5 separate regions of the Homo sapiens genome follow, and all the other regions are linked to region 5. Evidence: promoter capture Hi-C in 16 types of primary human blood cells and fetal thymus (Javierre and others, 2016). All regions are on one chromosome and are shown on one strand. Each heading gives the region's core, a stretch centred on a gene start or on the middle of the fragment in contact. The rest is flanking DNA. Distances are from core to core; before and after follow the strand shown.

What was found. Contacts are between HindIII fragments. The CHiCAGO score rates a contact against its expected background, and 5 or more counts as called.
Region 1: a fragment that was not itself captured here is called in contact with the fragment with the promoter of SRD5A3 in region 5 in 1 of 17 cell types (M2 macrophages); the score reaches 6.4 in M2 macrophages.
Region 2: a fragment that was not itself captured here is called in contact with the fragment with the promoter of SRD5A3 in region 5 in 1 of 17 cell types (M2 macrophages); the score reaches 7.3 in M2 macrophages.
Region 3: a contact is called between a fragment that was not itself captured here and the fragment with the promoter of SRD5A3 in region 5, in 8 of 17 cell types (naive CD8 T cells, naive CD4 T cells, naive B cells and 5 more). The highest score is 9.0, in naive CD8 T cells.
Region 4: a contact is called between a fragment that was not itself captured here and the fragment with the promoter of SRD5A3 in region 5, in 3 of 17 cell types (total CD8 T cells, naive CD4 T cells and activated CD4 T cells). The highest score is 6.9, in total CD8 T cells.

What each region holds. Positions count from the first base shown.
Region 1 is chr4:54,660,578-54,665,557 of GRCh38, reverse strand. All of the region lies in intron 1 of KIT (KIT proto-oncogene, receptor tyrosine kinase), which reads right to left. Among named protein-coding and RNA genes, the nearest start is that of KIT, 5.1 kb to the right of the region's middle. The HindIII fragment of the contact is 558 bases long and covers 1,687-2,244 here.
Region 2 is chr4:54,678,957-54,683,906 of GRCh38, reverse strand. All of the region lies in intron 1 of KIT (KIT proto-oncogene, receptor tyrosine kinase), which reads right to left. Among named protein-coding and RNA genes, the nearest start is that of KIT, 23 kb to the right of the region's middle. The HindIII fragment of the contact is 2,878 bases long and covers 274-3,151 here.
Region 3 is chr4:55,861,801-55,866,304 of GRCh38, reverse strand. It overlaps EXOC1 (exocyst complex component 1), which reads right to left. Exons shown (of 19, transcript NM_001024924.2): 4 at 1,919-2,078. Among named protein-coding and RNA genes, the nearest start is that of EXOC1, 10 kb to the right of the region's middle. The HindIII fragment of the contact is 4,502 bases long and covers 670-4,504 here.
Region 4 is chr4:55,880,434-55,884,848 of GRCh38, reverse strand. EXOC1 (exocyst complex component 1) reads right to left here. Exons shown (of 19, transcript NM_001024924.2): 10 at 921-1,026. Among named protein-coding and RNA genes, the nearest start is that of EXOC1, 29 kb to the right of the region's middle. The HindIII fragment of the contact is 2,200 bases long and covers 2,015-4,214 here.
Region 5 is chr4:55,344,173-55,349,080 of GRCh38, reverse strand. It overlaps SRD5A3 (steroid 5 alpha-reductase 3), which reads right to left and starts at 2,839. Exons shown (of 5, transcript NM_024592.5): 1 at 2,524-2,839. The coding sequence starts at 2,744. RefSeq lists silencers at 2,257-2,526, 2,737-2,906 and an enhancer at 2,358-3,118. The HindIII fragment of the contact is 3,550 bases long and covers 334-3,883 here.

The DNA of each region.
Region 1 (4,980 bases), core at 716-3,215, 680 kb after region 5:
TAAATACGCCGAATGAGAGAAGACCTGCACCTTTATCCTCCTCGTGTCTCTTAAGGGCGCTTTCTTTCCAAAGCATGTACCCTAATACCCAGGTCCACTACCCCTTCACTCAGAGATAATCTAAAGAGCCCATCTTCTGCCCAGCTCCCCAACATGTAGCTCGCAGCCATGAGTTTAACCCTCCTAAATAGTCTCCACGAAAAATCTCCCTTAGATACTTACATGCAAATGTTCATTACAGCATTGTTTGCAACCCAAATGTCCATCAAAGGAGGAACAGGTAAACAGAATGTGGTCTATACATACAATGGAATATTTTTCAGTCTTAAAAAGGAAGAAAATTCTGACTTATACTACAATAGGGGTGAACCTTGAGGATGTTACGGTATGTGAAATAAACCAGTCAAAAAACAGACAAATTCAGTATGGTTCTGCATTTGCGAGTTACCTGGAATAGTCAAATTCAGAGACAGAAAGTAGAATGGTGGTTGCCAGAAGCTGGGGGAAGGAGAGGGGAGCTGCTCTTCAATGGGTATAGAATTTCAGTTTTGCAAGATGAAAGTGTTCAACAGTATGAATGTACTTAACACTATTGAAATATACATTTAAAGATGATTAAGGTAGTAAATTTCATTTTATGTATGTTTTACTATTAAAAAAAAAAAAAACAGGCCAGGTGTGGTGGCTTACATCTGTAACCCCAGCATTTTGGGAGGCTGAGGCTGGGGGATCGCTTGAGCTCATAAGTTCGAGACTATTCTCTACAAAAATAGAAATAAAAAAATTAGCCGGTGTGGTGGCACACGCCTGGGGTCCCAGCTACTCAGGAGGCTGAGATGAGAGGATCACTTGAGTTCAGGAGGTGGAGGCTGCGGTGAACTATGATCGTGCCACTGCACTCCAGCCTGGCAACAGAGCAAGACCCTGTCTCATAAATAAATAAATAAATAAATAAATAAATAAATAAATAAATAATAAAAACAGACTCTCCCTTAGTCTTGGTTGCCCACAGCAAGGGAGTGTCCAAGTTTTAAGGCAGGGCTTGGCCTCTCGCTTCGTCAGACTATTGGAACAGGCTGGGGAGTATGTCTAATTGGACAGAATGGTGGAACAGGCAGCCCTGGACTAGTATGCAAAGCCTGGGGGGCCACTCCTGGGTCAAGTCCACCTTAGCCTTGACTTCAAAGCATTCTTCATAACCTAGACCAAACTCAGCACTAAATACACATTCCCTCCATGCTCCTTGAGGCTAGTAAGAGGAGTCTTACCTTCCCAGCCAATTCCCTACCCCCAGCCATCATACCAATAGAAAGGTTTGATAATCCTGAAGTAAGATCCTAATGCCTTGTTCCTTGTACTGTAGTTTTTTTCAGCTGAAGCCACAACTACACTGCCCTCTTCCTTTAAGGTTCAGAAATTAATCTCAAATATTATCTCCTATGTGGATGCTCTTACTGATTCCTGATCTCTATTACCTGCCCATCAAGATTTAAGCTCATCTCCTTGAAAATCCTGCCCAGAGCACTTTACACTTAAGAAAACCAAATTCTACTTCGAATCAGGGGCTGTGCTCTTGCCCTGGCCCTCCTCCACCCCCAGCCTGTAACGTAGGACCAAGGCATGGGGATTGATAAGCCTTTGTTAAACTGAATCCAAAATGTTTACTGACCATTTATGTTCAAAGCTTAGTGTAAGTGCTGGAGAATAGAAAAGATGTTAAACTAATACTTACTGAACACTAACCGCTGTGTCTAGCCTGGGGCAATGGACAAGTTCAGCTTGGTCCTTGAACTCCTAGTGAAAGCAGTCATGGAAAAGCTCCTTGACTGCTTTCATGGACCCTAGGTGAACTACATGTACTTATTCACCTACAGAAAATGGCCATTTGCAGACATTCCCCCAACCTAAACTTTTATCAAGAAATTTGTATCTCTTTTGGTGGAAAGTAACCCAAGAATACGGCTAAACAAAGAGCCAAGCAGATAAACATGCATTACCACTAATTAACAACTTCATCTTAATACGAAAAAAAAAAACCACTCTACATATTCTGTTTACACGTTTTCAATTTTTTTCTAAGAGGCAAAGCTGAAAGGGGAACATAAGAAAATCAGCCTGATAGTGGAGTCCACACACTTCCTCTATGCGGGGCACTATGCTAAGCATATTACATGCAGAATCTCATTTAATCCTCGCAGGGGCCCTATGTCATCATCTCCATTTTACAGATGAGGAAATGAAGCTTAAGGAGAGGTTAAGTGTCTTGTCCCAGAGCACACAGCAGGGAAGAGGCAGAACTGGAATAAAAATCCAGCGTGTCAATTTCAGAGCCCAAGCTCGTAATTAACTGATGCCACATGTCCTGAATAATAATTTGGCTTAAACCTTAAATTTTGCAAAAATGTTGAAAACCTGTCAGAAAGGTATGCATGGGAAGATGTCTAACAAAAGTGTGTCATAACCAAAATGTAAGCATGAAAGCTAAAACATAAGATGAATGGGAAAAGTACCAGACACAAATGTTATGTTGGAGAATCTTACAAGATGTGTAGTTTTTTTTTTTCCCCCCTGGAGAAAAAAAAAGTTCAAGATCTATTCAATCTCTAGGACTAGTGATTTCCTAACTCTTATCAAAAGCTAAATAAAACAAGACCAAAAAAATTAAAGCTTATTTTTAAAACTGTCGGCCAGGCATGGTGGCTCATGCCTGTAATCCTAGCACTTTGGGAGGCCGAGGCAGGTAGATCACCTGAGGTCAGGGGTTCGAGACCAGCCAGGCCAACATGGTGAAACCCCATCTCTACTAAAAGTACAAAAATTAGCCGAGCATGGTGGCGGGTGCCTGTAATCCCAGCTACTCAGGAGGCTGAGGCAGGAGAATCGCTTGAACCCAGGAGGTGGAGGTTGCAGTGAGACGAGATTGCGCCATTGCACTCCAGCCTGGGCAACAGGGCAAGATACTGTCTTTAAAACAAACAAAAAAAATGCCTTTCTAATCTTTAGGGCAATCATCTTAAAAGAGTAGGCATTATTCCCATTTTAGGGACAATAATAATTCCTGTTTTACAGACGATAATTATGGCTAACACATATTGAGCCTGTACTATGAGGCACCACTCTAAAAGTTTTACATGTAGCAACACATTTACTGGCACAGAGAGGTTAAGTAATCTGCCGAAAGTCACAGAGCTAATAAGTGGCAAAACTAGGATGGACAATGAAAGCTCAAAAAGGTTAAACAATTTGCTCTAAGGCCATCAAGCTGTCAGTCATGAAGCCATCAGACCAACACAAGGTAGGCCGGCCTGTCTCCTCCCACTTGTCATCTGCCTGGTCCCAGGGGCATATTTGGATTCCTGCACTCACCAGGGCCCAGTGGGGAATGCCTAAGGGATGGCAGGATAAAGCCCTAGAGCCTAATGCAACCTGAAGAGCACAGGCCTCATCTACAGGGGCCATGACCTTCAATTCTTAAAGAGGAGACAGAAATAGAGATCTTGATTTAAAAAAAATCTCTAGATTGTTTAATATCGCCTCAATGTTTTCTAAAAAGCATCATGTAGGCCAAAGAAAACATGTCTCCTCGGGCTATCAGATTACAACTGCTCTTTACTTATTAAGAGTCTTAGGTCAAAAGATGAGCTGTATGATCACATCCAAAAAATGTCAGAAATCAGAGCTGCTGGGCCAAGCCGACTCAACTCAATTCCTCTCTATGACTCAACTCAATTCCTCTCTAAGTACAACAAAGATTTACACTGGATTTGCCCTCCAGGCAAACTTTTACCTCCTCTAACTCTTCCCCAGGCCTTCTTCAATCCGGACTTATAGCTGTGGCAATATCTATTCAAGTTACCAAAACTGCACATGAAATTTGCATATTTGGATTCCTGCAAATGTCATTCAATCTCAACTTTTAAAAGTTACCGCACATTAATGCAGCAAAAGAAAGCATTTCCCACATCCTAGCCTGCCAACTCTTAAACTACATTCATTCTGAAGAAAAAGCTGCCACAGCCTTGACCACTACCTTGAAGGGGTCCCCACACTGCAGGCCAGCTCTGAGAATTCCGCTAGAGACACCGAGGTTCATTTCCTCGTGTCCTTCTTTAATCAGCTGGAAGAGACTTGAGGAAATGAGTCAAAACCCTAAGGGTAACTTCGAAGGGCTGTCAACAACAGCAGCAAAATTCATCACCACCACAACATCTGTACATAAATGTTCTCCAAGGGAAGCCCGCAGAATACTTGGCACATTTCTGATGAGAATTTCTTTTGGGAGAAAAAATGGCTTTGGATGGTAGATTGTCATTATTTCTCACCATGCTATCCAGGGTAAATAGCCAATGACATCAGCCATTATTGGGGGTGTTCTCTTTCACACCTATGCACAAGACCATTTTTATGTTTTGGAGTGGGAGATGGATTTTTAACTGGCTTGCATCATCCTTTTAGAAACAGCTTACCTTCATTTCTGAGGGACGCTAACTGGAATGAGATAGCTAACAACTAAGCCAACATACCACAGGGTCAAATGCCTACAGCCCTTCCTCCAAGCTAAAATTTAATTAATCCTCCCTCCACAAATAATCCGCTTTCATAAGACACGCAATTCTAAATATTTTTCACCAAAATTGGGAAGGTAGTGACATTGGCCATCCTGTATTCCCAGAACTTCCAACAATCCCTGGCACATAGTAAAAACTCATTAAATATTTTTGAATGAGTCTTACAACAGATTCTGGTGAATCATGTGAATGGCTATAGAGCTGGGCACATGCAGCCAATCTCATCAGGCTTCACCACTGATGATTTAGGGCTTATCCTTAGCCAGTTTCTCCAGCTGTAAAATGTTAGGGGTAATAATAGTACTACTTCCTAGGCTCATTGAGACTACTAGAAATAGGTAAAGCCCCAAGCAAAAGGCCTGGCACACAGTTTCCAACTGAAGAGCAACAACTATGTACACCACACATGTCA
Region 2 (4,950 bases), core at 463-2,962, 660 kb after region 5:
CTCAGATTCCTCAACATTGCCCAGCTGGGAGATTCATTTTAGTGCAACCCTCACCTTGACTCATTCCTTCCACCAGTTCCCAATTCACAAGCGTGCCACCTGGTGGCAAAAGAAGATGCCCTTGGGCTGCTTCTGCTTTTTGAACAGCACTCCCAAGATAGAGAACATGTTAAATGTTCTGTGTGCTTCTAAGGAAACTTACTAAGAGGACCCAGCAGCAACGACTCAAGCTTCCAGTGAGTGTGTTTTAGAGACAGGACATCTGTCAAAGCTTTTCTCAGGCTGGAGAAGACAAGCAAAATTATTAAATGTTTGGTGTCTGTTAAATATTTAATATTTGTATATATTAGATGAAATGTATAAATGCATACTTTTGCAGGTAGTTACACTTGGGTTTTGGGGGTTTTGTCTTCCCCACCCCCCCACCTTTTGGTGGAGAACGAGGTCTCACTATGTTGCCCAGGCAGATCTCGAACTCCTGGGCTCACGCTATTCTCCTGCCTCTGCCTTCCTAAGTGCTGGAATTACAGGTGTGAGCCACCGCGCCCGGCCATAACTGCATACTTTTGCTCTTAAGCAATTAGTGAAGGATGTGAAGGGGAAAATATATACTGGTAGAGACATAGCAGTTCTGGATTCTAAATCATTAGGCAAGTTACTTAGGTTCTCTAGGCCTTGTTTTTCTCATTTGACAAAGTAAAGAGTCTAAAGCCACTAACAATTCTAAGATCTGTAATTAAATGCTTAGAAGAAATAAATGCTGAGGTGATGGGATAACCCCAATTATCCTGATTTAATCATCCTACATTGTATGTTTGGAATTAAACACATAGGCCCCATCGGAAGGTTAAGACAGGCCGGGCACAGTAGCTCACACCTGTAATCCCAGCACTGTGGGAAGCTGAGGCGGGAGGATCACTTGAGACCAGGAGTTTGAGACCAGCATGGTCAATATGGTGAAACCCCGTCTCTACTAAAAATACAAAATTTAGCCAGGTGTGGTGTAGCATGCCTGTAATCCCAGCTACTCAGGAGGCTGAGGCACAAGAATCGTTTGAACCAGGGAGGCAGAGGTTGCAGTGAGCCGAGATTGCGTCACTGCACTCCAGCTCGGGTGACGGGGCGAGACTCTGTCTTCTAAAAAAAAAAAAAAAAACGGTCAAGACAAAGAAATATCGGCCGGGCGCAGTGGCTCACATCTGTAATCCCAGCACTTTGGGAGGCCGAGGCAGATGGATCACTTGAGGTTAGGAGTTCAAGACCAGTCTTGGCCAATATGCTGAAACCCTGTCTCTACTAAAAATACCAAAAAAATTAGCCGGATATGGTGACATGTGCCTGTAATCTCAGCTTAGGAGGCTGAGGGAGGAGGATCACTTGAACCTGGGAGGTGGAGGTTACAGTGAGCCAAGACTGTGCCACTTCACTCTAGCCTGGGAAATAGAGCAAGACTCCACCTCAAAAAAAAAAGAAAAAAAAGACAAAGAAATCTCTTACATTAATAAAAATTCAGTGCTTGGGCCAGGCACGGTGGCCCATGCCTTTAATCCCAGAAATTTGGGAGGTCAAGGCGGGAGGATTGCTTACCCAGGAGCTCAAGACCAGCTTGTGCAATGTGGCTAAACATCATCTCTGCAAAAAATACAAAAATTAGTCAGGCATGGTGGCATGTGCCTGTACTCCCAGCTCCTTGGGAGGCTAAGGTGGGAGGATCGCTTGAGCCCAGGAAGTTGAGGCTGCAGTGAGCTGTGATCGTGCCACTACACTCCAGCCTGGGAGACAAAGAGAGATCCAGTCTCAAAAAAAAAAAAAAAAAGAAAATTCAGTTCTTGTACATAGAAAGCACTCAAATGTTTGTGGCAAGAATGAATAGCAGTGATTCTCTTATAATATAAATATATAACTAAACATCTACTTTGTTTTTGTTTGTTTTTGAGATGGAGTCTCGCTTTCCCAGGCTGGAATGAAGTGGCACGATCTCGGCTCACTGCAACCTCCGCCACCATGCCCAGCTAATTTTTGTATTTTTAGTAGAGTCAGGTTTTCGCCACGTTGGCCAGGCTGATCTCGAACTCCTGGCCTCAGGTGATCCACCCGACTTGGCCTCTCAAAGTGCTAGGATTACAGGTGTGAGCCACCATGCCAGGCCTACTTTGTTTTTATACTACTCTTTGGACACAGAATTAGAATAAGGACCTAAACATGAAATTTGACTTACGGCTCTGACATCTTATAATTAACTATGAAGATGCAAGTATCATTCGACACTCAAAGACGGACCTTTCTCAGCTAATTATGTGGTCAGACTTCTCCTAGATACACACACCTTACCAGCAGCAAAGACCTTCATAGGACTACTTAATATATTCTCTTCTCACTCACTCATCCTAACAAAAATACAACCTAATGCTTGAGGAAAGACCTCCCCTTTTGATCTCAGAGACAGACTAAGAGGAAACCTTTCTCTGCCATTATGAAGTCAGTCTTTGGGGAGTTGGATAAGGTCTGGATGTGACAAGCAAAATATACTGGGATCCATCCCTGAGCAGAAAGGAGGAACTTTCTCATTTCCAGTGGGTTCTTCCCAACAGCCCAGCACAGTCCCCCGTTTCCCCGCACCCCCCACCCCATCCCCGCTGCCGTAAATATGTAGATTTCTGTGTTTTGATTTCTGGAAAGCACATATTGAAACATGAACCAGAAAAGCACTAAGGATTGGAATCCAATAAACACCAGAACAAGGCCCTCACCATCTGTGAAGTTTGGGGTCGGGGTAGCGAGCTCGTCCCTTCTTTGAACATTTTCTTCCTTCACTTAAAGAACAATTCAGAACAAAGTAAAAAGAAACAGGTCAAAAGAGCATGGCAAAGGTCAGCCACACTAGTCAAAGACTTCACCCCCCCAAGACCTAGGACATACAAAAGGGAGCCCTGGTGCAGTCTCACCTCCGAGCAGATCCTCCTGGCTGCACACTCCACAAACAGATGGGCATCACCAGATTCTTGCAACAAGATCCTGCAGGAGGACCTGACAAGTGCAAACTGCCTTCATGTTAGCACTGTCCTGGACAGGTGTGGGTGTGGGCGAGTGTGAGCTAGGCGCTCCAATATTCACTAATCACCAAATTTCCTCCTATCAGGAAACTCAAGCTTCTGCAAAATGTCAATTCCCTGCAGGCTCAGGAGGGGAAATGGAGTTTTGAGGAAGACAAATAAGGCCGGCACGGTGGCTCATACCTGTAATCCCAGCACTTTGGGAGGCCGGGGCATGTGGATCACCTGAGGTCAAGAGTTCGAGACCAGCCTGCCCAACACCGTGAAACCTCATCTCTACCTAAAATATAAAAAATTAGCCGGGCGTGGTGGCGGGCGCCTGTAGTCCCAGCTACTCGGCAGGCTGAGGCAGGAGAATCGCTTGAACTGGGGAGGCGGAGGTTGCAGTGAGCAGAGATCATGCCACTGCATTCTAGCCTGGGCAACAAGAGCAAAACTCCTTCTCATTAAAAAAAAAAAAAAAAAAAAGGACGAATGAAAACTTCAAGACATAAAAAAGTGTGACAACCCTAAACTCTAGTTCTAACTTATGGCATCTAATTTGAATGATATCAAATGAAACACAGATAAGTGAGAGGCTGATTAACATTTATACATACACATATGCCTATCTGTGTGCATGTGTATATATACACATATATCTGGCAACTGGGGCATTTAAGAAATGTTTTACTATGGTAAAATATACATGACATAAGATTTACCATTTTAACCTTGCAAGTATACAGTTCAGTGGCATTAAGTACATTCACATTGTTGTACGGCCATCACCATTATCCATTTCCAGAACTTTTTCATCATCCCAAACAGAAATATTGCATAATGACTCACCATTCTCTGCTCCCTCCAACCCCTGATCAACATGATTCTACTTTCTGTCTGGATGAATTTCATTATTCTAGGTACCTCATATAAGTGGAATCACACACTATTTGTCCTTTTGTCTCTTGCTTGTTTAACTCAATATAAGGTCTGCAAGGTTCATCTATGTTGTATCATTTGTAAAAGTTGACTTCCCTTTTAAGGCTGAATAATAGTCCACTGTGTATATGCTATATTTTTGTTTATCCATTCGTCTTGACATTTTATTAATATTATTTCCCTAAGGCATTTTTAAAACCTGTCTTCAATTATGATCTACATTTTATAAAGGCCTGATTTTCTAGCTCTTAAAAATGCTATAAATTATACTTGACTCAGATACTTAAGCTAATTTTCATTATAATGGGTAAATCAGTACATTTTGCTAGTGAACATACTCTGAAATCCTGCTTTAATGGGCCTGTCAAATAGGGAAAATTGCACCTTCCCCTCCATCCCACACTGAACAGACAGGACATTTTTCCTTCTATTTCCACTTTCAAAAATGTCACTTTATAGCCATAGGGATGGTTTATACCAAAGGAAGTAAAAACAAATTATTAATAAGAAAAACAAGTTTTATCTGAGGCCATTGCTAGAAAAAAGGTTACTGCCCTTGATAACTGTTCTGCAGATAGACTTCAATTACCAGCAGCAGAACAGTTCACCTACAGCTCCGGATAACAAGCAGAGGCAAATCTCCTTTCTCCCCTCTCTGGAGTTGGTAGAAACATTCAGGGAGCCCCTTTTCACTTGCCTTTGTGTTACCCTGCCACAGAGGAGGATCTGTTTTTTAAGTGCTAGAGAGAGCCAATTTCCAGGAAGGCAGTGCATGTGTTTCAGAATATGAGTTTAATTTAAAGGGCTCACAAGTGAGCAGCTCACAGTGTCACTCCTTGGAGCAGGGCCCTCAGCTCTAGAGGGACAAGGTAAAGGCTGCACTTGGGTGGAGGCAGAGGAACTCACCCTGGGTGGCCTCAGTGTTTCTCATAGAATAATACAAGGCTGTCTCCTTCAGTGAGTCTTCAAGGGGGCA
Region 3 (4,504 bases), core at 1,671-4,170, 520 kb before region 5:
AATCTACTTCAACTGCTGAAAAGTCCTCTTTTACAAACCTTATTCTGCTGAGGAGCCCCATTATTTAACTTACGTATTCAATTGTCAACAATAAAAACTACCAAGTTGCCACTGCTACCATTTATAATCAAAATAGTCTTACTTAATTATTGAGCTCTTAAACTGGGGTGGTAATAATTTTTTATTTGTTTTCTAACATCACTCAAAACTTAGAGACATTTTTTTTTAATGGGAATTAAAGGCTGTAATTTCAAGGTCCATAAAACAAGTTTGTAGACATTAATGAAGCTATTCCCTGAACTCCACTAAACCAAAGCAAGAGTTACTGACGTATATAGCAAGTGATTTTCAAAATGAGATCCTTAAGGATCTTCTCAGTATTCTTAAAATCGATCTCAGTTAGGGTTAATGTTTATACACATGAACGTGTCTATACTCTTGTTTTATGGCCTGAAAAATTGAATGCCTTTTTTTTTTTAAGTTAGACACTTCATTTTCAAAAACAGTAATACTCTTCTCACTGATTTTGGTAGTATTTCTTAATGAGGCAGATCCAGGTAGGGTATGTATTTTTCTATATGACTGTCCTGAAATATACTGGTTTAAAATCACCTTACACAATAAATAACATCTGGAAATGCATAATATTTGAAGACAGAACAGCAAGCTTGTGAATCACTGAATCACTGACTCATCAGAATGTTCAACCCTGAAATGTTAAAAAAAATAAAAGCCATTCGAAGCAAATTAAACCACGATTCAAGGCATGAAAAGTTACCATAAATTTCTTGAAGGTCATTCCCTCTACACACTCAATTACCAAGATGTTGGGGACTAGTGTTGGTGAGATGGCAACCCTGGGGATTCCTACATAAGACCAGCACTACTGGTGGCTGACATATGTGACTTGTTTCTGCCAGTGCCAAGCATCAAGCCTAAAATCAGCAGCAGGCTCACTGATTACTAAGTGCTATCTTACAATGTTTGTATCTTTAGGAAAGAAATTTTAAAAGTAGAGAAAATCTCATATTTTCACTAATTAATGGTAGAGTTTTTGTCTTGTAACACAAAATGATGCATAGTAACATTCCTGAAGATATACTGATCAAAAATATTCTAATAATCTTCATGTCTAAGGATTTTATACTGGTAACATAATAATAGCTAATATTTACTGAGCACTTACTATGTACCTGGCACTGTTCTTACTATGTTCATATATTAAGTAATTTAATCCTCATAACAACCCTATGAGGTAGATACTATTATTATCTCTAGTTCTGAGATAAGGGAAACTGAAACATAGAGAGTAAGTATCAATGCAAAGTCATATAGCTAGTTAGTGGCAAAGCCAGGATTTGAACCCAAGAAGTCTGACTTCAGAGCTATGTTCTTAACCACTACATCTACCCTCTGTACAAAAATACTGCTACAAGGGTATTTATCCCAGAGCTGTTTAAAAGAAGCAAAGATTGGAAAATTAAAAAATAAATGATTAGTTAAATAAACATGGTATATCCATATAATGGAATACTATGGTGCTACTGAAAATAATGTTGGGGTAAGTATTCAACAACATGAAAAATGTTCATGATACATTATATGAAAAAGTATGTTAGAAAACATAATGTAAATTTCTTTATCTTAAAAAGGTGTTTATGCATAGGAAAAAGACTAGACGAATATCTAACAAAGTGCTAACAGTAGTTATTGCTGAAGAATAAGTGGTTTTTATTTATTTATCATAATGTATTAATATTCTACAATAAACAAGCATAATTTCTGCAATAAGAAAAATTATTTTAAAGTTCTTTTACGATAAGATAATTCAGTATTCTAATTAATTTGAATGATGTCAAATTATATATTCACTTAAAGATATAATTGATTTTACATATACATTTTTATTTAACTTTACCTTCCAAAAGCTGTGAGCTAACATTGACAAAATCAATTTTCTTCCGGAGATATCGCTGATTCAATTTCCAAATGCATGAAATAAATGCATTCTTTTCAGCAGTGCTGCTGGCAACCCATTTATATATTTTTTCAAAGTGTAAATCAAATTCAGGATTTTCCTAAAATAAAAATATACAAAAGATATTATTTTTGATCACATCCTTTTACATTGTTAATGTAAAATCTGCATAGGCATTTACGCTGTTTTTGGAAAATGAAGAGTATTAAAAATCAGCTAAGCAACTGGAAAGGAAGAGTTTGGAGAATTCAATTTATAGCAAAAAGTTTACCACCCCAAAGGAGCTGGATGAAAAAACAACATACTGTTGTGGTCATTTTCTTCCTATGCCCTTTAGGTCTATGAGTAGAAGTATAGGATGCATTAATGGCTTTGTGGCTTAGCTTCCTCATCAGTAAGATGACAATGGTCTCTAGCTTTGACATGGACCTAATTTTTCTTTTTAAATTGCCTATAGAGTTTTAGTTATACATTTTCTTTAATAATGTACTACTATTTGAAACTGTAATTGGACACTAACTCCCTAATAAGGACTATATCTTCTAAGTATAAAACTTGAGAAAAATGCAATGTATATCCTGGTGTACTTTCTAAGAACAAGTGAGGTGAAAAGCAGAGATTGCGCCTAATTATTTTCTATTTTGAAAATAAGGAATGATTAAAGATATCTTGAAAGCTAAAAGTGCTGCTAGGTCTCAAAGTTCTTTATTTTTTTGAGACAGGGTCTCACTTTGTTGCCAAGGCTACAATGCAGTGGTGCAATCATGGTTCACTGCAGCCTCCACCTCCTGGGCTCAGGCAATCCTCCCAACCTCAGCCTCCTGAGTAGCTGGGGACACGGACACATACCAGCATGCCTAATTTTTAAAATGTTCTTGTAGAGACAAGATCTCCCCATGTTATCCAGTTGATCCTCCTGCTTCGGCCTCCCAAAGTGCTGGAATTACAGGCATGAGCCCTGTTCCTGGCCTAACGTTCTTTCATGTGATAAAGAAGCTCAACCAATCTGAGAGAATTACACTATAGTTTCTTCAAGTCTCTTAAGCCACATTATAGCAATAATCCACATCAGGCTAATATTTCTCCCTTGAATGAATAGAACTACTTGACTATTATATAAAAAAACAGGCTGGGCTTGGTAGCTCACGCCTGTAATCCTAGCACTTTGGGAGGCCGAGGTGGGTAGATTGCTTGAACCCAGGAATTTGAGACTGGCCTGGGCAACATGGCAAAACACTTCTCTACAAAAAACACAAAAATTAGCCGGGTGTAGTGGCATGTACGTGTAGTCCCAGCTACTCGGGAGGCTAAGGTGGGAGGATGGCTTGAGCCCGGAAGGTGGAGGCTGCAGTGAGCCAAGATTGTGCCACCGCACTCCAGCCTGGGTGACAGAGTGAGACCCTGTCTCAAAACAAACAAGCAGACAAACAAACAAACAAACTTATGGATGTATACTTCACATCCAAGGAATTAAAAAATAGGCTCAAATATTCTTAATGTTCTACAGGGTAAAAGAATAATAATATATTTGATTCATTTAAAGTGTTATTTGGGGGAAATGTAAATACATTAAAGTAAGGGAAGTTATATCAGACTTTCACTGTGAAGAACTGGAGTATCTCAGGAATCAGGACTTGACCTTTGGTACAACAATCATATTACAGCAGCATGGAACTACTAATTAGTTCAATTTATAGCTTAATAAACAGAATTGAAGCGTCAAAAATTTAAAACCTGCATATACAATGAAAAGGTAATTGCATTATTACTTACAAAAAAACACAACAAGAGTATTGGCAACCAATATGAAACTTGATGGGAAATAATCTCTTCCCTGGGAATATTTCCCATAATACCATAAAAGAAGCTGAGTGCTCCAGTGGCAACACTCACAAATCAATGTGTGATACTAAATGGCTAATGTTAAGTTATGTATAAAAATTTTATGTTTTATATCCATATATAGCATACACACACCAAGGTGCCTACATAAAATGCAAAAAAAAAAAATCCATTAAGCAAGTCTGCAAGAGGCATCAGCTGTGAGAATGCATTCAAATAAGCATTCAGCAATGTTACTGAATTATGCAAGTCAACAGGGTTACGAAGTGCAAAACTACTGAAGGGAAAAATGTTTTTTAATAAAGGTGCAGTTTTAAAAACCCTTAAAGTGTTTTGTCTTAACAGAAAACAACCAGAAAAGTTTCCACTCTTGATCCCTCCCCATGGTAATAAAAATTACTTACAGAAGTTTTTTTTTGTTTTTTTTTGTGGAGACAGAGTCTCACTCTGTTGCCCAGGCTGGAGTGCAGTGGCGCAATCTCGGCTCACTGCAACCTCTGCCTCTCAGGTTCAAGCAATTCTCTTGCCTCAGCCTCCCAAGAAGCTGGGACTACAGGCGTGTGCCGCCACGCCCAGCTAATTTTTTGTATTTTAGTAGAGACAGGGTTTCACTGTGTTACCCAGGCTGGTCTTGAACTCCTGAGCTCAGGCAATCCACCAGCCTCGGCCTCCCAAAGTGTTAGG
Region 4 (4,415 bases), core at 1,865-4,364, 540 kb before region 5:
CCTACAGAAAAGAATGGAAACATGTACTATCAGTTTTGAATCATGTTTCTTGATTACTGAAGTTGCTTAGGGCATAGGCTCCTTTCAACAGGCAAATGCTAAACTCATTATTCTAAAGGGGAGCTATGCAGACACACTGAGGAGTACACAATGTGGCCATTTAAGGCCAGGTTTTGACTTGAATAGGCACAAAACTCCATCCAAAAGGAACTCCAGAGATGGATACATGCAAGAGCAGAATGTGGCCTCGGCAAATCACCTTCCTCATAACTTGATACTGTCACTGGCTATTCTTTCAAATAATGTTTTTGTCCATTTAAAATACTTATAAACAACAAAAATTAACATGCATCAAAGCATCTCTTTAGAAAAATAAGGTAAAATAACATGAGAATGTTTGGTGACAGTTTTATAGCCCTTTGGCAGGGGAGAAAATATTTAAACTTTCTTTTTGATTCAAAATAGCCAGTGAGAAGTAAGAAGCCAGGAACCAGTTTCATTTCTATGTGGAGAGCAATGACTTAAGAGATTAGTGACTTGCCCCCAACTGTTATAAAAAGTCTTTTAGGGAATCAGTTAAACTGAACTCCCAACATCTGTCTCTCAGTCTAGTACTTTCTCTACTTGACTGCACTTCATTTTCTCACCAACTGCTGTTCTTATGAATATATATATTTGATTACAGCATGAATACACAATCGCTGTCACAGTCACATACTGCAGAATTTTAATTAAAGAAAATTTACAGATATACATATTTGTTCTATGAAACGGCTATAAATCAAGCCAACGTTTTAGACCTCTTTTTTCATAAATTCTGCTGGATCTACCTCCACCTTGCTTAAGAAGTCTTAGAATTATTTGTTATAAATAAAGCCATTTTTAATAGGAAGATAATGAACTGACATGCCTAAGCTTACCAAACTTCTTGCTTTCTTTAGTTGTGCCAGTCATCTTGATCTTTGCAACTTCAAAGAAATCTTTGATTTCTCTTTCATATAGTCGGGATAAATAATCCATGTAATTCTTAAAATAAAAGTAACATGTACTTCTTATTAATAAAACACATATAACAATTTCAATTTTTCAATTCCCCAAGTCCTTCATGCTTGTTTTAAATTTCATAGTCCAAAACTTTGATGTATTTCACAGGATATAAAAATAGGTTACTTTCTGTCTTAAAAAACAATTGAATAGGCATCATAACATTAACAATTTACAAAAATATGAAGTCAAACATAACCATATTTATATTTTCATTTTTCTATATTACCTTTTGCATATTTTAAATATCACTGTAATCACACTATACAGAATATCTAAATCAGAACAAATACATTTCTCCAGTCTCACATTTTAATGACAGCACAGTATTCAGTTTTGTTGGTGTAGCACCATTAAGTAAACCAATCCCCTAACACAGGACAATGAAGTGGTTTCCATGTTTTGCTATGATAGACAATGTTACAATAAGCTTTTCATCTCTAATGAACTATTTCTTTGAAATAATTTCTTAAGGATGGAATAACAGGGTCAAAGTGTATGGGAATCTTAATTGCTCTTCCTCTATATTGTCATGTTGCTTTAAAAACAGACCAATAATAAATAGTGTCAATGGCACTTAAGAATATTTAGTTTCACTGAGCCTCTGCCAGCTTGGGATATTACTCCAAAATAGGTTATTTTCCATAAGAACTTCATTAGTATATCTTACAGTTTTCAAAATCAAGTAATTAATTTTCTTAAAACAGATTTGATTAATTCTCGCTTAAATAAAAACATTTTTGTATCCTTTGGCATACAAAAATCATTTCTTCATCATCTCTACTTATTATCACATAAAAATATACTCTCCAGAAGAGTTCCTCAACAGTGGGAGACTGTATATTTTTCCAAGTATGAAGTTAAATGCCACAAACAGAATTTGACTAAATTTAAATAAACCAGAAAATAAAATTTAAATAAAGCAGAAAAGTTGTACCTATTCTTTTAAGTTTATCATAAAATCTAAGCTTCAATTTCCTATATTATTTCAAATTAATGTGTCAATTTTTAGAACATGTTTACCTGCTTTAAAGATCAGGTATACCTTCCAAAAGGTACATGTTGTGTAAATATTTGTATATTGATTCACAGTTTACCATTGATTGTCTTAAAATATTTTATAGCTGTATTCTTATAAAATAGCATTTGGACCAAACATAATATATATAGATCCTGTCCTTTTTCAATTTGTATGCCATATACATTTTTCACATATCTCTGTATCTAATGTAAGAACAGTTAGTCAAATGGGCAATTATTTCCCATGATCTTTGTATAACTTTAAAAGCAAATATAAATTAAAATTCCTATTTCATTGGGATGTATTACTTTTTCAGTGGGACTCAAATGACTTAGATACCTTTTTTCCTGGCACTCAACAGAACTGACTGATAGGAAAGACCACAGGAAGGTTTTACTGTATCAGTGTCTCTCCAAAACTCTATGATGCCAGCCTGGGCAACATGGTGAAACCCTGTATCTACAGAAAATGCAAAATTAGCCGGGAGCGGTGGCACATGCCTGTAGTCCCAGCTACTCAGGAGGCTGAGGCAGAAGGACTGCTTGAGCCCAGGAAGTTGAGGCTGCAGTGAGCTGTGATCACATCACTGCATTCCAGCCTGGGTGTCAGAGTGAGACCCTGCCTAAAAAAACAAAAACGAAAACAAAAACAAAACAAAACACAATACAACAACAACAACAACAAAAACCCTATGGTAAGTTTTAAATTTTAAGATGGTACTTTAGAATGCTAGTTCACCATCTTCTCTACTGGCTCTCTGATTTTTTTTTCCTTCCACTCACCTCAGCTTCTCTGGCTGATTAAATCTGCCTTTCCTCACAGCAACCCTTGCCTCTAGTGTTTGGCTTTCGAGTAGCAAGCAGTGGAACCTGGGTCCGCTGTAGGGTCTCCATGGTTTACTTTTTCTTTATACAATGTGAAAGGAAAATAAATCTTGGGGCCCCAAAATCACTAAGTTATAGGGAAAAGTCAAGCTGGGAACTGCTTGGGCAAATCTGCCTCCCTTTCTATTCAAAGTCATTCTTCTGCTCACTGAGATAAATGCGTATCTGATTGGCTCCTTTGGAAAGGCTAATCAGAAACTCAAAGGAATGCAACCATTTGTTGCTTGTCTACCTATGATCTGGAAGCCCCCTCCCCACTTTGTTGTCCCACCTTTGCTTCAAGTTGTTTGGCCTTTCCAGACCAAACCAGTGTTCACCTTACATATACTGATTGACGTCCCATGTCTCCCTAAAATGTATAAAACCAAGGTGTGCTCGGACCACCTTGGGCACATGTCGTCAGGACCTCCTGAGGCTGTATCATGGGTGCGCATCCTTAACTTTGGCAAAATAAACTTCCTAAATTGACTGAGATCTTGTCTCAGACATTTGGGGTTCACAACAATAAGACAAATTCTACAAATGTAAAACTGAGGTGGAGAGAAGACATGTGAGTCATCTTCAAGTCAGACTGCCAATCTCAGGAGGCTATTAGGAGAGGAAAACTCCTTTCCTACCCAAGCATGGATGGACCATCTCTACTAACTACCCTACATGTATGACCCAGAGTTGCAGACGAAGGTAGCAGTCCCGGGAGGAGGGAATCTGGGCAGTCCAAGCTACAACTATTTTCTGTATACCAAAAAATGGGGCTTTGCTTAGATTCAGCCTCAGTACAGCTAGAGGCAGTGGCTAGTGATTCTTATTCCCAAAGAATTTTGAACAAGTTTTTCCTGTTCCTGCCAAAAAGTGTGAGCTGTGTAAACCTAACCAAGTGCAAATAGCTTTCTGAATTATGATTTCTTACTAAAGAAACACTGATTGGTCTGTTTCCTTCTTTTTTCTTCATTCCTTTCTTCTTCCTTAAAATTCCTGTTTTTGACAACTCTTCAGCAACCAAATTAGATGATGAGGTAAAAATACATAATCTGTGAAAAGCTCAAATCACAGGATGACGCAACATTCCTGGGAAAAAGTCAATTTCATTTAAAAAGCTCATTAATATTGTCAATCAAAAATATACTCTGAGCAGAGAATGATTCCATAAATCATTACTAGGTTGGCTCTAATCTTGTTTCTTCACTTTAAATTACATTCATGAATACTGCATTATATATAAAGATAGGGCAATAATACTCACTGGGAACACAATTAGGCAAAAAGCTTATTGATTACTTATTTGAATATTCACTAGGGGACAAAGCACTTGTTGGCACAAAACTCTTAAGGAAATATAATTTATGTTTAATTATTCAGAATATTAATCCTCCTAAAACTTCAAAAGGCAAAGAATTCCAGTAATGTAAATTTTTTCCTTAAGATATCTCCAAATCTGAATTCTGTTGAATGAAAACAAGACAAAAGAA
Region 5 (4,908 bases), core at 1,590-4,089:
CCTGGGCGACAGAGCGAGACTCCATCTCAAAAAAACAAAACAAAAGAGTACTACTAGATTTTGCACAGGAAAAATATTCACATATAAGTATCAAGGTTAACGTTACCAAATGATTTTAAATTTGGATTAACCAAGATATTTACTAAATGCTACCATCTGGGATAAATCCATTCTCACTTAATCTTTCACACAGATTGAGCTTCACATGGTACAAGATATTTCCCACGAAGTATACCAGAGGATAAGAGCTTGGGATTTAAATTCCAACAGGCAGGGTTCAGGTACCACCCTTGCTAGTACTAGCATCACTGCACAACTGCTATCTTCTAAGCTTGAGTCTGCATGTGTGTAAATGGGAATAATGACAATAACATCTCCCTCACAGGTCCACTGTGAGGATTAAATGAGGAAAGGCACGTACTCCTTAGTAGTCATCACATAATCATATATGTAAACATTTAGTCAATGGTGGTTACTATTTATAAACCAGTAAAATCTCTCCCACATGCTCCTTAGCCATTAGCACATTTTTTTAAATGATAAAAGTGATAAGCATCTTGTGAATGAAGACATTTTGGAAAATACAGAGACGTATAAAAAAGAGGCCATAGACTCTTACCTCCACCCAACTCTAATTATCTGCCTATTTCATATAAACAGGGGTATAAAATTTAAAAAGAGAGTAATACATGTATTAATTTTTTGGAGACACTGCCAGTTTTGATGCAAGTTATCTTTTTTTTGTCACAATAAAAATGCCTTTCATTATTGGTCTGGATGTTTTGTACCTTCTCCAGTACTAAAAGAAATGTCTGTTTAAATTTAGAGAAGGAGGGGAAGGGCACTTGAACACTATGGGAGGTTCTACTGTAGAATTCTGGAAGAAGAAAAAGGTGTAAATTATTTCACAATAGAGTAGAAATTACAGGAAGTCCAAACAGAACCAACTGTTACAGTAATGAATAAGGAAAAGGTACCAAGTCTCTTTCTTGGCTGTCATGTAATAACAGACTTGAGTTGCAACAGCTGGGGTGTATGCAAGTTCAGGGGATGATTTTACATGTGCCATTTAATCCAGGTACACTAGACTAGTACCTTTCTCAAAACTCAGAAAATAAATTGCTGTGAAGTATAAAAGGATTCAACCCTGATTACAAATGGGATAACAGGTAATTTTTGCTTAAAAAGAGCCTCTAGGAAACAGGAGGTTTGATCAATTTGTTTCATGTACTTCTACTTCTTCCCTTTAGGGTGCCTCAGAATGACCTAGTTCTCCCTTCTCTGTGTTAACACATGACACATCTTTCTCTGACAGTCAAAATTCGCAGATTATCCAAGTTTTAGAAGCCAAATTATACTTGTCCCTTTGTTGCCTGCGGACCTGGGGCACTGCCTATGAGTGTTTCAAGCGACAACCCAGATGTTTTTAACCTTTAAAAAAAAATTTTTTTTAAATACAAGGTATTTCTCTGTTGCCCAGGCTAGAGTGCAGTGCCATGATTATAGCCCACTGCAGTCTCCAATGCCTGATCTCAGATGATCTTCCTGCCTTCATTCCAAGTAGCTGGCACTACAGGCACACGCCACCAAGCCCTGCCAATTTTTTGTATTTTCAGGAGAGACGGAGTCTCACTATATTTCCCAGCCTGGTCTCGAACTCCTGAACTCAAGCGATCCGCCTGCCTCAGCCTCCTAAAGTGCTGGGATTACAGGCGTGAGCCACTGCGCCCGGCCTAAGATGCATCTTAAGGGGCACTGTTCTATTTCTACCATCTCGAATAGTATTTGGCCAACTCTTTCCAGCTATGTCCTGAATTTAAAGTGGAAAAAGGAGAAGAAGAAAATTATAACAGGTCTCTATTTAAAACCTGACGATTTAATCCTTCGCTGAACTGGGTTACAGAATTTTTCGAAAGTCAAATGGAGCTTCGGGACGGGCCTGCCTATGACCTGCACCTTGGGCCACCTTCCCCAGGGGCACCTGCCAAGGTGCAGGTTAGGGCGACTCAGTCCTTTGTCCCCACTGCAAGGGTTGGGAAGAGAAACGGGGGAAGCCGAGGCCGAAGAGCCGGCCTAACTTCATTTCCACAAATGATTCCCGGTGACCTCAAGTTAGAGTATGAGCCACTGGAGTGCAGGGTACGGGAAAAAGGAGAATTTGGGGCAAGGGGCACTTCAATTTGCCGCCTAAATTCGCATGACCAGGCCTAAATTCGGATGCGTTGCCATTTCCCACAGGGAAAGGCTCCGTGCGGCTACCAGTTCACATTCCTCCAGCTGAGTGCAAGCGGCTCCGCTCTCCCTCGGCGTCCGCGGACACCCGGGCACTGCTCCCCGGAGCCACGCAGCAGCCGGGGCATGGCCGGGGCCAGGCCGAGGGAGCGCCGTGCTGCGCCCGGGAACCCGCCAGGGCCTCCCAGGCCGGGTCCCGCCTCTGCTGCCCCCTGCTGGCTGCCCGCGAGCCGGGGCGCCCCGAACTCTCAGCGCCTTGACCACCGCGGCTCGGGACCGGGGCGCGGTTACCTCTTGGGGACATCAAAGGCTCGGCAGGCGGCGGGGCGCGACGGCTCCCCACACTTGGTTTTCCCATAGCGGATCAGGTCCTGGAAGATCGCGCAGCCCGGGAGCAGGCCGGGCGGCAGGAGCTGCAGCAGTAGGGTCAGCAGGAAGGCGGCGGTCAGCGTGAGCCACACCGCGCGCAGCGGGTTCAGCGCCGAGTGCTCGGCCTCCGCCCAGGGAGCCATGGCCCGCGTGCCCGCCTTCCGCGCTGCTGGCGCCCCCACCGCCCGCTAGCCCGCGGAAGAGCGGCCACTAGCGCGCGGCGCACCGGTCTCAGCCTAGCGGGACGTCGGTGACGCGGCGCGGGGCGGGGACGCGCAGAGCCCCTCCCGGACTCGCCGCTCAGCCGCGGAGGTCCTTGGTCCTGGTCGCGCTGGCGCTGGGTGGTCGCTCGCAGTCCCTAATCTGGGCATGGGGATTCTTAGATGGAGCTCCAGAATATGATTCATCAGAAGCAAAGACGCAAAACAGACGAGACCACGTGTCTGCCACTCTTATCAACATTATCTCCAAAGCAAAAAATGGAAACCTTACATGTTGCATTTTAGTTTATTTAGCTAAATTATGATACACTGACATGTTAGAATATCATGCAGTCATTGAGAATTATTATGACGAGTGTAGAAACAGGGAAAGCTGTTTAGGAAACAATATGTGAAGTGAAAAACAAAACCAACCATAAAAATACATAGCTATGATTGCAAACAACTATATTAATATGAATGTGTGTATATATGGATAAAGAAGGCAGATCACACCCAAAAATGAATAATTATGTTAGGATGCTGGAAATGTGTTGGATATGTGTATAATGTAAACATGTAGACAAGTAATTGCACATAATAATAAAAATCATAGTGGTAAAAACTGTGTTTAAAAAACAGCAGTCGCTTACCAATAGGGTTCCAATCCTTAGAAGCAAAGTTTTTAAATTCCATCAGCTGTTTCCTGTAACATTTATCTCAGGTAGTGACAATGCTATTTATTGACTCACTGATTTTAAACAACACTGATTTTATTTACTATAAGTGAAAATCTAGCTCTTTTAAGTATTTAAAAGTCTTTAAAATGTTAATTCTGAAGTATTGTATGCCTACTGTATGACAGGCATCATTTTGGATACTGAGGACAGAGGGGTTTACAAGATAATTGTCACTGCTTATTTGGAGCTTACATTTTTGAGATTGGGTGGTGGGTGAGAAGTGGAAGAGGGGAGAGGTAGCCAACTCATCACCCTTACCCCAATGAGATACCCGATATGTGTGTTGAATAAACATCAGGGTGGGTAGGTTAGTGGGACTTTGGACTGTTAAATGAGCAAGCTTTTAAAGTTTTCTTCTTTGTGCAAAAGACACCTAAGGCTTTACCCGTCCTTTGACAGCCAGGTGATTAAGGATGGTTAAATTGGCATTCTAGCTAGGACAATGAGGCCTTATTGAGTGATCCTGGATCTCTTTTGCGGGAGTCACCCTTTCACTGTTTCTTTCTTTTCTTTTTTTTTTTTTTGAGATGGAGTCTCGCTTTGTCGCCCAGGCTGGAGTGCAGTGGCCTGATCTCTGCTCACTGCAAGCTCTGCCTCCCAGGTTCACACCATTCTCCTACCTCAGCCTCCCGAATAGCTGGGACTACAGGTGCCCCCCCAACCACGCCTGGCTTTTTTTTTTTTTTTTTTTTTGTATTTTTAGTGGAGATGGGGTTTCACTGTGTTAGCCAGGATGGTCTTGATCTCCTGACCTCGTGATCCATCTGCCTCGGCCTCCCAAAGTGCTGGGATTACAAGCATGAGCCAATGCTCCTGGCACCCCTTCACTGTTTCTTTATTTTTCTTAGGTTAACTCTCTGTAAATGCAGCTGGTCTGTCCATGATCTTTTTCTTTTCAGAGAAGCTACTTGTAAGTGCATTGCAGGGACTCAGTTTCCTGGGTAGGAGTTTCTCTTACAGTTGTCTGACCTGGGGCAAGATTGAAAACAAGATAAGTGTGTGTGTATGTGTGAGTGTGTGTGTAGTGGAAACAGGAAGGGTTGAGGAGGCTGGAGGGGAAAATCATCCCATATATTTTTTAGATTTTTTTTTTTGAGACCGAGTTTCACTCTTGTTGCCCGGGCTGGAGTGCAATGGCACGATCTTGGCTCACCGTGACCTCTGCCTCCTGGGTTCAAGCTATTCTGCCTCAGCCTCCCGAGTAGCTGGGATTACAGGCATGTGACACCACACCAGGCTAATTTTGTATTATTAGTAGAGACGGGGTTTCTCCATGTTGGTCAGGCTGGTCTCAAACTCCCGACCTCAGGTGATCCGCTTGCCTCGGCCTCCCAAAGTGCTGAGATTACAGGCGTGAGCCACCCTGC